Regions from separate parts of the Homo sapiens genome. Here regions 1 and 3 are each linked to region 2. The links are contacts of gene promoters, found by promoter capture Hi-C in blood cells and fetal thymus (Javierre and others, 2016). All regions are on one chromosome and are shown on one strand. The core of a region is centred on a gene start or on the middle of the fragment in contact, and the rest is flanking DNA. Distances in the headings are between cores, read along the strand shown.

Region 1 (3,174 bases), core at 9-2,508, 150 kb before region 2:
TGGGCTACGCTGGTACCTTCTGCAACACGGCAATTAGGGGTTTGCAGATCAGACCTTCAGCTCATAGGAGGCGCGTTTAAATCTTAATGGCAAATACAAATTGAATTAAATTTTACTTGTTACTGAAGGGGAAATAAACCTGACCTCACGCCCTTGGAGTATTTCCATGAGAAATCTATGTATAAGTGCTCCTTTGATATGTACCTGATACTTTTGAAAGGCTGAATAAGCACCTGCCAACTTTACAAAAGAGGAATGTTTCCCCCAAAGGCCTGATGAGCCATCTCTTTGAAATGTAAACAGTGAAGAAGATAGTGCCCTTATCTCCCTGTCACCTTGGGAGTTTAGCTTAGGTGCCTAGCTCCAAACTCGTAACTGCCCGCTTGTCACAGATAAAAGTTTTATTTTTTCTTTTTGATAAAGGCAATTAACTAGTGTAGATGGCTACTCCAATTACCAGGTGAATTTAGAATGAATTATGAAAAATTGTATAGCAAACAATGTCAAATCCTCTTACAAGGGGGCAAATTACCATTAATTTTGAGGACATGTTTGTAATAGATTGTATCTGCCCAACTAGATAAAAAGTAAGATCTCTTTCTGTCTGGCATCTGATTAGCAGATTGTCTACAATGTGCTTCCCAGTCCAGTTCAATATTATTTGGTAATAAAACTGTTCTCCTTCTTTTCTACGTTTGTGAAGGGGATTTTCTGGGTTAGCAGGAGATTTTGTTTTTATTTTCTCCAACACCTCCTTCCATCTTCTTATTTCTTTTCACCTTCCCAATATCAGCCTTCTGAGGCTTCTCTGTTCTCCAGTACTCAGGAGATAGAGAACATGGCCCCAAGGCCGTTGTGAGCCAGGAGACAGACAAACATTTCTTGATATTCTGTCCTGCCTTTCACAGAAAGGACCAATTCCCTTCTCTTGTCTTGGAGGCTGCCGTGTTAGTACTGGGCAGAATCTGTTACTGAAACACCAGGGGTTGGGTCTAGGTCCTGCTGGTTGCCAGTCAGAAAACCAATCACTGAGACGAGTATTGCAAGGGAAGAAGGCCTTAATTGAGTGCTGCAGCCAAGAAGATGGGAGATCAGTCTCACATCCATCTCCCTGACTGACCAAAATCAGGGGTTTGTATAGCAGGGAAGAAATGTAACTATGTGTGGGAAAACAGAAATTAGGGAGAGGTAAGTTGGAACAGGAAGGAGGTGATTGGTTAGGCAATATGACTGATGAGGAGTGTGGGTTCTCATTGTCCACATGCAATGATTTGGTAAGTTGCAGCTCCTTGATACTATCTGGGAGGCCTGATGTTTGGTTTTCCTGAGAAAGGAACTCAGGACAAATGTGACCTTCTCAAGTTTTAAGACTGGGGGAATCCATTTCTTTTCTTTCCTTTTCCTTTCTTTTTTTTTTTTTGGACAGGGACTTGCTCTGTCATTCAGGCTAGAGTGCGGTGGCATGATCACCGCTCATGTAGCCTCAACCTCCTGGGCTCAAGTGAGTCTTCCACCTCAGCCCCGAGTAGTTGGGACTACAGGCACATGCCACCACACCTGGCAATATTTTTTAATTTTTTGTAGAGATGGGGTTTCACCATGTTGCCCAGGCTGATCTTAAACTCCTAGGCTCAGGTGATTCTCCCACCTCAGCTTCCCAAAGTGCTGGAATTACAGGCATGAGCCACCGCACCTGGCCTGGAAGGACCAATTTCTGTTTATTCAAAGAAACCATAAACATCAATTCTGTGGGACAATTGGGACAGTTTCAAATCCAGCCCTTGATCTGGAGCCCTCCCTCAGCATCCCTCTGTGCTCCATGTGACTGTTATTCATCACGTGAATAAAATCTATGGAACAGTTGAATTAAAAATACAAGGACAGAGGTGACATCAATGGGAAATCTCTGTCCCTTCTGTTTAATTTTGCTATGGACATAAAATTCATCTAAAAATGAAGTCTATTCATAAAAGAGAAAATTAGGAAAATTTTGCAATGTTTTACTTGCCCCTCGCCCTGCTTTCCTCCCTGGCTCTTCAGCAGTCTCAAAGCCTACATTCACAGCATGGGATGCAATTATGACAGACCCACAGCTAACATCATACTCAATGGTGAAAACTGAAAACTCTTCCCCTAAGGTCAGTGACAAGACAAGGATGCTTACTTTTGCCACTTCTATTCAACATTGTACTGGAAGGTCTATTTATAGCAATTAGACAAGAAAAAGAAAAGCCATCCAAATGGGAAAGGAAGAAGTAAAACTATCTCTATTCACAGATGATGTGATCTTGTATATAGTAAACACTACATTTCTATAACTAACAAACGATTTGAAAATAAGAAAATAGTTCCATTTGCAATAGCATCAAAAAGAATAACATATTTAGGAATAACTTTAACCAGGAAGGCACAAGATTTGTACACTGAAAATTACAAATCATTGCTGAAAGAAATTGTGTAAGCTCCAAATAAATGAAATTACATACTCCGTTCATGGGTTGGAAGGCTTAATATTGTTAAAATGGCATTATTCCTCAAAGCAATCTACAGATGCAATGCTATCCTTGTCAAAATTCCAATGGCCTTTTTGCAGAAATGGAAAAGTTGATCCTAAAGTTCGTATGGAATTTTAAGGGACCCAGAGTAGCCAAAACAATTTTGAAAAAGAATAAGGTTGGAGGACTCACTCTTCTTAATTTTAAAACTTAATACAAAGCTTCAGTAATTAAAACAGTGTGGTACTGCCATAAGGGTAGACATAGACCAATGGATAGGATTGAAAGTCCAGAAATGAAACTGTAGAGAAATGGTCAATTGCTTTTCAACAAGGATGCCGAGACCATTTAATGGGGAAAGAATAGCCTTTTCAATAAATCATGCTGGAACAACTGGATAACCACAAGTAAAAGAATGAAGTTGGACCTCTACCTCCCACTGTATACAAAAATTAACTCAAAGACTATAAAGATCTAAATATAAAAGCTAAAACTCTTAGAAGAAAGCATAAGGGTTAATTTTCATTACCTTGCATCTGAAAAATTGTTTCTTAGATGTGACACCAAAAGCAGAAGCAACAAATGGAAAAATAAATTGGGCCAGTCGCAGTGGCTCACCCCTGTAATCCCAGCACTTTGGGAGGCCAAGGCAGGAGGATCATTTGAGCTCAGGAGGTCA
Region 2 (3,341 bases), core at 766-3,265:
GGGAAACTAATACAGTGAATGAGTGAGAAGGACTCTAACAGGTAGCACCAAAGAAAGAACGTTCTGGGTGGAGGGAACAATATAAGTCAGGTAGTACATATTTGGAATCTAACACACAATCTAGTGTGATTGAAGCACAGAACAAGAGTTGTGGAACCAAGGCAGAAAATTAAGGGCCAACTTATAAAGTACTGACTTTCCTATGGTAAGGCTGGGCCTGGAAAATCAGGCTGTTCTTTCCAAGAAGAGATATGGAAGATGAACTATAGGGGCAGAACTAGAAGCCAAAAAAATCAAATGAGGAGATTAAAGCGCGGAAGACAAAAGAAAAGGGGCAGCTAGGCACGGTGGCTCACGCCTATAATCGCAGCAGTTTGGGATGCAGAGGTGGGTGGATCACTTGAGGTCAAGAGTTCGAGACCAGCCTGGCCAACATGGTAAAACCCTCTCTCTACTAAAAATACAAAAATTAGCCTGGGCATGGTGGCTCACACTTGTAATCCCAGCACTGTGGGAGGCCAAGGCGGGCAGATCACAAGGTCAGGAGTTCGAGACCAGCCTGACCAACATGGTGAAACCCCATCTCTACTAAAAATACAAAAATTAGCCAGGCATGGTGGCACGCTCCTGTAATACCAGCCAGCTACTCAGGAGGCTGAGGCAGGAGAATCACTTGAACCCGGGAGGCAGAGGTTGCAGTGAGCTGAGATGGCAACATTGCACTCCAGCCTGGGCGACAGAGCGAGACTCTGTCTTAAAACAAAACAAACACAAAAATTAGCTGGGTGTGGTGGTGCACACCTGTAGTCGCAGCTACTCAGGAGGCTGAGGCAGGAGAATTGCTTGAACCAGGGACGGGGAGGTTGCAGTGAGCCGAGATCGCGCCACTGCACTCCAGCCTGGGCGACAGAGCAAGAAGAAACAAAGAGGAAGGAAGGGAGGGGAAAAAAAAAAAAAGAAAAGGGGCAGCTAAAAGTGGTATTCCAGAAATGCAATGAATAAGATTTGATGACAGTTGATGTAGCCTCAGGACAGACTCAGAACCCCTGGAACTTTTCTGCATAGACAGCTGACATGATCTCTCAACTCCTGGGCTCCCAATGGGAAGGAACAAATGTCCAAATACCAATGGTGGTTGCCCTGGAGTTAATATAATTGCATAGCATGTGGGGAGAAGGGCTTAATAAACATTTGGTCATTTGATTTTAAATGGCACATGGACAAGTGGCAAGAGGGCACACATACCAATGATGGCCACTTTGTTCTCCTTCATGGAACTCAGCACCTGCTCCAGCTTCTCCTCAGATGCCATATTCTGCACCTCACTCAGGTGGTGCTCCTGGAACTCCACTGGGACAGCGGCAGCCTTCAGAGACAGGTTCCCAAAACATCACAGTCAAGGCCAAGTCCTTTCCAACACACTACTGTCCTCTACTGTCTGATCCCCGAGGCCACTCACCTTGAACACCTCCTTGACGGCGTGCATCAGCTCAGGCCCCACACCGTCTCCCGGAAGCATGGTCACGGGAAAGGAGCCCTCCACCCTCACGTCCTCGGCCTCAATTGGGGGAAGAGGGGAGAAGTAAAGATAGAGCTGGGGCGGGAGCACGGATCCTGGGAGTAGAGAAGTAGGGAGACCCGGGAGGGGTGGGGAAAAGCCAGGGGAGGGAGCAGCGAGGAAGGGACAGGGTCGTAAGAGAGACCCCAGCCAGATTCGTGCATACCTGGCTCCGCGATGCAGCGTGCGCCGCGGCCGAGGTACTCAGACCTCTCCATGCCCCAGGGTTCCCGGCGGAGACCAGCGCCTGCAACAGGGACACACAAGCCTGTAAGGTCAGCTTTGAGACATCCAGACCCCGAACACTACAGTTGACTTTGCCCTGTTTAGGAAACCCTAGGACAAACTCTCCGCTCCTTCGCCCGCCCCTGCCCGACATGTCCCGGGGCCTCACTCGGGTCAGCCAGCGGACTCCGCTCAATGCCGCCATGTTTCCCGCAGGAAGTCGCGTGGGAAGTGACGCCTGAAGCTGGCGCGGCCCCGTACCCCGACTTCCGGCCTGTACTGAGTTCCTGGTATTTCTCTCTCTGCGCCAACCAGCACTGCTTGCTCACGCCTGTTTCTCCTTTTCCTTGCCGGTGGGGAGGTCATGGGATGCGCAAGCACTTTGTCTCTTGCTTTGTTTTCAGTCGCCATATTTAATCTACGTCGAAACTTCAAAATAACATTAGGGGGAAAAATGTAGCGTCATGTTTATCAGACGAGGACCTGAGCTTAACAAGCGATTGAGAGAAAATCCTTGGGAAGCTGTTAAAATTTGTGTGTCAATGCGTTTGTTATTCTTTTAACCAGTACTCACTGAATACCTGTATGTCAGGCTCTCGAGGAATACAGTACAGACATGGGAGGTGTGTGTCGGGTTTCTCCGCCAGTCTCCGAGAGTGCCCAGGACCTCTGTATTACCCGTCGCCTCGTAGTTTTTTCTTACAGGGTTTTGTTCTTTGCTCTGACAGTTATTTCCCTAATAGTGTGTCCCGGACTTGAACTCCCCAGGACAGGCCCATAACTAGTGTCAGAAATGAGTTCAAGCGTGTAAGTGTGACTAAAGGGAATTTCAGACTGATCCTTAAAGTAACAATCATAAAAACTAAAAAAAGCCTGGACAACATAGGGAGACCTCGACTCTACAAAAAATTTAAAAATTAGCCAGGCGTGGTGACACACCTGTAGTCCCAGCTACTTAGGAGGCTGAGGTGGGAGGATCACTTAAGCCCGGGAGGTGGAAGCCGTAGTGAGCCGTGATGGCACCACTGCACTCCAGCCTGGGAGACGGGGCGAGACCCGTCTCAAAACAATTACAGTCACGATTTTTTTTTTTTTTTTTTTGAGACAGAGTCTCGCTCTGTCGCCCAGGCTGGAGTGCGGTGGTGCGATCTCGGCTCACTGCAAGCTCCGCCTCCTGGGTTCACCCCATTCTCCTGCCTCAGCCTCCCGAGTAGCGCCCGCCATCACACCTGGCTAATTTTTTTTTTTTTTTTTTTTTTTTTTTGTATTTTTAGTGGAGACGGGGTTTCACCGTGGTCTCGATCTCCTGACGTCGTGATCCGCCCGCCTCGGCCTCCCAAAGTGCTGGGATTACAGGCGTGAGCCACCAAGCCCGGCCTCCAGTCACGATTTTAGGTGTGTACAATTGACACACCTAAAGACAAACTGGTACAGGAAGATTTGCCTCACCCGCTCTTCTGGAAGTATGGTTTTGGATCACCTATCCAGATGGACCAGAGCTCTTGTTAAAAGTGCAGGCTTGTGAGTCATACTTCATTTGCTGAATCCAAATCTCAGT
Region 3 (3,273 bases), core at 144-2,643, 200 kb before region 2:
CTTCTAATATCAATTCAACCTCACAGGCCTATAATTCTGCCCCTCATCTTACATCAGAAATAGGAGAAGCCATAGAAGGAAAAGGTTAAGAGAAATTTCACATACACAGAAATTGAAATTTCATATCTGTTCCTCAAAAGCATAAAAACAGAAACCCCCAAAAAGCAACAACCAGAAAAAGATGAACAAAATATAAATGTGAAGTAGGAAAAATAACTGCAACAGGATAGGAAAGTGGGGAAAAAAGCTAAAGCTAGATCCTAAAAATAAAGGGGAAAAAATAGCCTGATTTAAAAAAAGAACTCAAAAGATTTTGTTTTGATATTTTACAGTATATTAACTGGTTGTCTGTGGATGGACAGTTTTTCCCTTTTTTGGCTCACATTTTCTTATTTTTTAAAATAATAACCATGTATTGTCCTTTCATAATTAGAAAAAAACCCTTCGGGGTATTTTAGTTTCTATTCATAGACTTCTTTGTATTTTCAAAAATATTTTCCAATAAACATTTTTTATAATCAGGAGGGAACTTTGGAGTAGCTCCACGCTCATCTGTTGGCCCCTCTCTAATACGTACCTGGCACCAAGGCATCCCTACCACATTTTTAAACTATACTTCTTGACCTTGGGTCACAGAAGAAATCAGCCCCAAGGAGAATCAAAGGGAATTCAAAGTGAGTGACAGAATAATATGGACACTGCATATGACAAAAGAGCTGCTGGCCACGGAAGTCACATCATCTTTTTGTGCCTCAAGTAGCCTTGAATGTAAAACATGATGGGAAGCTAAATCATATCTTTTAATGGGCCAAAAGCTTAAGATCTGTGAGACTCAAGGCAAGGGAGTTAGCCAATAACTTACGGAATTGTAGCAAAGTAGACAATATCTCCAATTGTTTGTATAAATGCCAACAAAAATCACTGGCCCCAAACCCACATGGGGAGCTGAGCACTTACCCTGAAGAGGGTCAGAGGCTTCTTAAAGCAGTTTCAGACCAGGCTGCATTGGGAGAGCCCTTTAGGCTACAGCTTTACAAATAGGCAATGAGGCCAGAAACTCAAGCTCTCCCCCCTCACACACCTGTGGGGAGAACATGAGAGCCCTTTACCCCAGTACCCAGGGGCACGCAAAGTGAGAGAAACAAAAAGCCTAGCAGCCCTTCACAACTTGTACTTTGCTAGACTAGAGAGCAAGGTTTGCTGGACTCAAAAAGATTTCTTAGCGTTCAATGTCCCCATTTAAGTCTGCCCTCTAAAACTGGAGAATAAACAGAGAAGAACCAACTAGCTACATCACCACCTCTATTGCTTGGCCCACCCACTCAATCCATTCCCATCCTCCAGTCTCCGCCCCCCACAGTCCACTCCTCACTTGATCTTTCTGAACTCATCACAGTCACAGAGGATCAAATTCATGTGCTTGTCAAAAGCCTTGAAGGTGCCAATGAAGATCCGGCCGTCCTGCAGGATGCACCTCATCCTGTAATCAATATGCTGCAGCATCTTGCTGCTCTTGCCCACCGTCTGCAAGGAGAAATGGACAGGGATGAGACTCTGCTCTTTTGGACCCAAGCACCTCTGGCCCTCCCCAAAACTTCCCATGGCGTTCTTGTCCATGTGTCCAACTTTCTCAACAGATTCTTAGCTCAGTCTCCCACCCACAGCCTTTTCCTAGGAATTCTCCCATGCCACCCTGTTTTAGCCCTGACCTCTACCCAGTAATCTGCTATTCTCTCTTCCCTTGAAATCGGTCTTTCTCATATTATAATTGCCTTTCTCCTTGTCGTGTCAGTTGCAGGGATGAGAGTATAGGGTGTCCCCAAAATAATCCAATGCATACATACTAGAGCCATCTACCAGTGTGCAGATTATAGATATGTGACTCAAGTGCTATGGAACATTCAAATCTCATTAAAAACACTGAGTAAAGGAAGAGCTAGAATAGGGCTGAAACTAAAAATCTAATCAACAAGAAGCTTGTTATCAGGAAGGAGATCAGCTTCAAGGTGAAAAATGAAATCCACATATCAAGAATTTGTTAGTGTGCCTCCAAGACTATATTTGGCAGAGGGAAACTTCTGATGGTTAGGGTGCTAACCAGTTTGGACATATAATGGTCTTTAACCCAACAAACATTTCTGCTTTCATAACCTGGGTTCCAATGTGCTAAAATAAAGAAGTGACTATATAGGTATCACTTTGTGAACTGTCAGGTACCCTAAGCAGTTGTATTTCTCTCTATAAACAAATCACCTGGCATTTGATCTGTATATCATCCTCCCATCAGTCTGACTGCTATACCCAAGTCCTAACCCACCAAGTGCCTTCTATGGACATCTGTTCATCTCTGTGAGCTCAGACAACAAAGTTCTGAACCTGCAAATATGCAGATCAAAACCTTGACTCCATGGCCGGGCTCAGTGGCTCACTCCTGCAATCCCGGCATTTTGGGAGGCCGAGGTGGGCAGAACACCTTAGGTCAGGAGTTCAAGACCAGCCTGGCTAACATGGCGAAGCCCCGTCTCTACTAAAATTACAAAAATTAGCCACACGTGGTGGCAGGTGCCTGTAATCCCAGCTACTCGGGAGACTGAGATGGGAGAATCGCTTGAACCTGGGAGGTGGAGGCTGCAGTGAACTGAGATCATGCCACTGCACTCCAGCCTGGGTGACAGGGAAAGACTCCATCTCAAAAAAACAAAAACAAAACTTGACTCCACACAAAGATACTGCGAGCCTCCCTCAGGTTAGGTGGTTCAGTTTCCATTCAATGACCATTTTAACCAGCTTCTAACCACAAGGGATCTGAACCTTTAGGGCAACATTCACTGGTCCAGCTCAACTAATGTTTACTGGGTGCTCACTGTGTATCTGGCACTGTGATAAGCACAGTACATCTCATTTAATCCCCAAAATTGGGCCCATTATTATCCCTATTTTACAGATGAGGTCACTGAGGCTAGGAGAGGTTAAGTAACTTGCCCAGTTTCACAGCTGGGAAGCTGTGTTGGAACCTAGACAAAATGAATCCAGCGCCTATTCTAACCAGTTATCCAAACAATATCCTACCAGGTTTCCCTGCTTCCAGTCCCATCGAATATACATGCCAGAGCTAGAGCAATCTTTCTAAACACCACTAAGCTTATGTCATTTTGCTGGTTAAAATCCTTCAGTGGGCAGGGTGTGGTGGCTCACGGCTGTAATCCCAGCACTTTGGGAGGCCAAGGTGGGTGGATTAACTGAGGTCAGGAGTTCGAGACCAGTCTGGCCAAC

Evidence for each region. The method cuts DNA at HindIII sites, captures the fragments that hold promoters and counts their contacts. A CHiCAGO score of 5 or more calls a contact.
Region 1: a contact is called between a fragment that was not itself captured here and the fragment with the promoter of IDH3B in region 2, in 2 of 17 cell types (total CD8 T cells and naive CD4 T cells). The highest score is 5.5, in total CD8 T cells.
Region 3: a contact is called between a fragment that was not itself captured here and the fragment with the promoter of IDH3B in region 2, in 1 of 17 cell types (erythroblasts). The highest score is 5.5, in erythroblasts.

What each region holds. Positions count from the first base shown.
Region 1 is chr20:2,509,711-2,512,884 of GRCh38, forward strand. It overlaps a transcript of ZNF343 not described here. Among named protein-coding and RNA genes, the nearest start is that of ZNF343, 2.4 kb to the left of the region's middle. RefSeq lists an enhancer at 31-626. The HindIII fragment of the contact is 2,911 bases long and covers 1-2,714 here.
Region 2 is chr20:2,662,201-2,665,541 of GRCh38, forward strand. IDH3B (isocitrate dehydrogenase (NAD(+)) 3 non-catalytic subunit beta) reads right to left here and starts at 2,016. Exons shown (of 12, transcript NM_006899.5): 1 at 1,953-2,016; 2 at 1,725-1,805; 3 at 1,460-1,558; 4 at 1,246-1,366. The coding sequence starts at 1,988. It overlaps IDH3B-DT (IDH3B divergent transcript), which reads left to right and starts at 2,074. Exons shown (of 3, transcript NR_186432.1): 1 at 2,074-2,406; 2 at 3,058-3,304. RefSeq lists enhancers at 293-1,080, 2,654-3,341. The HindIII fragment of the contact is 11,157 bases long and covers 1-3,341 here.
Region 3 is chr20:2,466,235-2,469,507 of GRCh38, forward strand. SNRPB (small nuclear ribonucleoprotein polypeptides B and B1) reads right to left here. Exons shown (of 7, transcript NM_003091.4): 2 at 1,373-1,524. Among named protein-coding and RNA genes, the nearest start is that of SNRPB, 2.9 kb to the right of the region's middle. The HindIII fragment of the contact is 1,161 bases long and covers 814-1,974 here.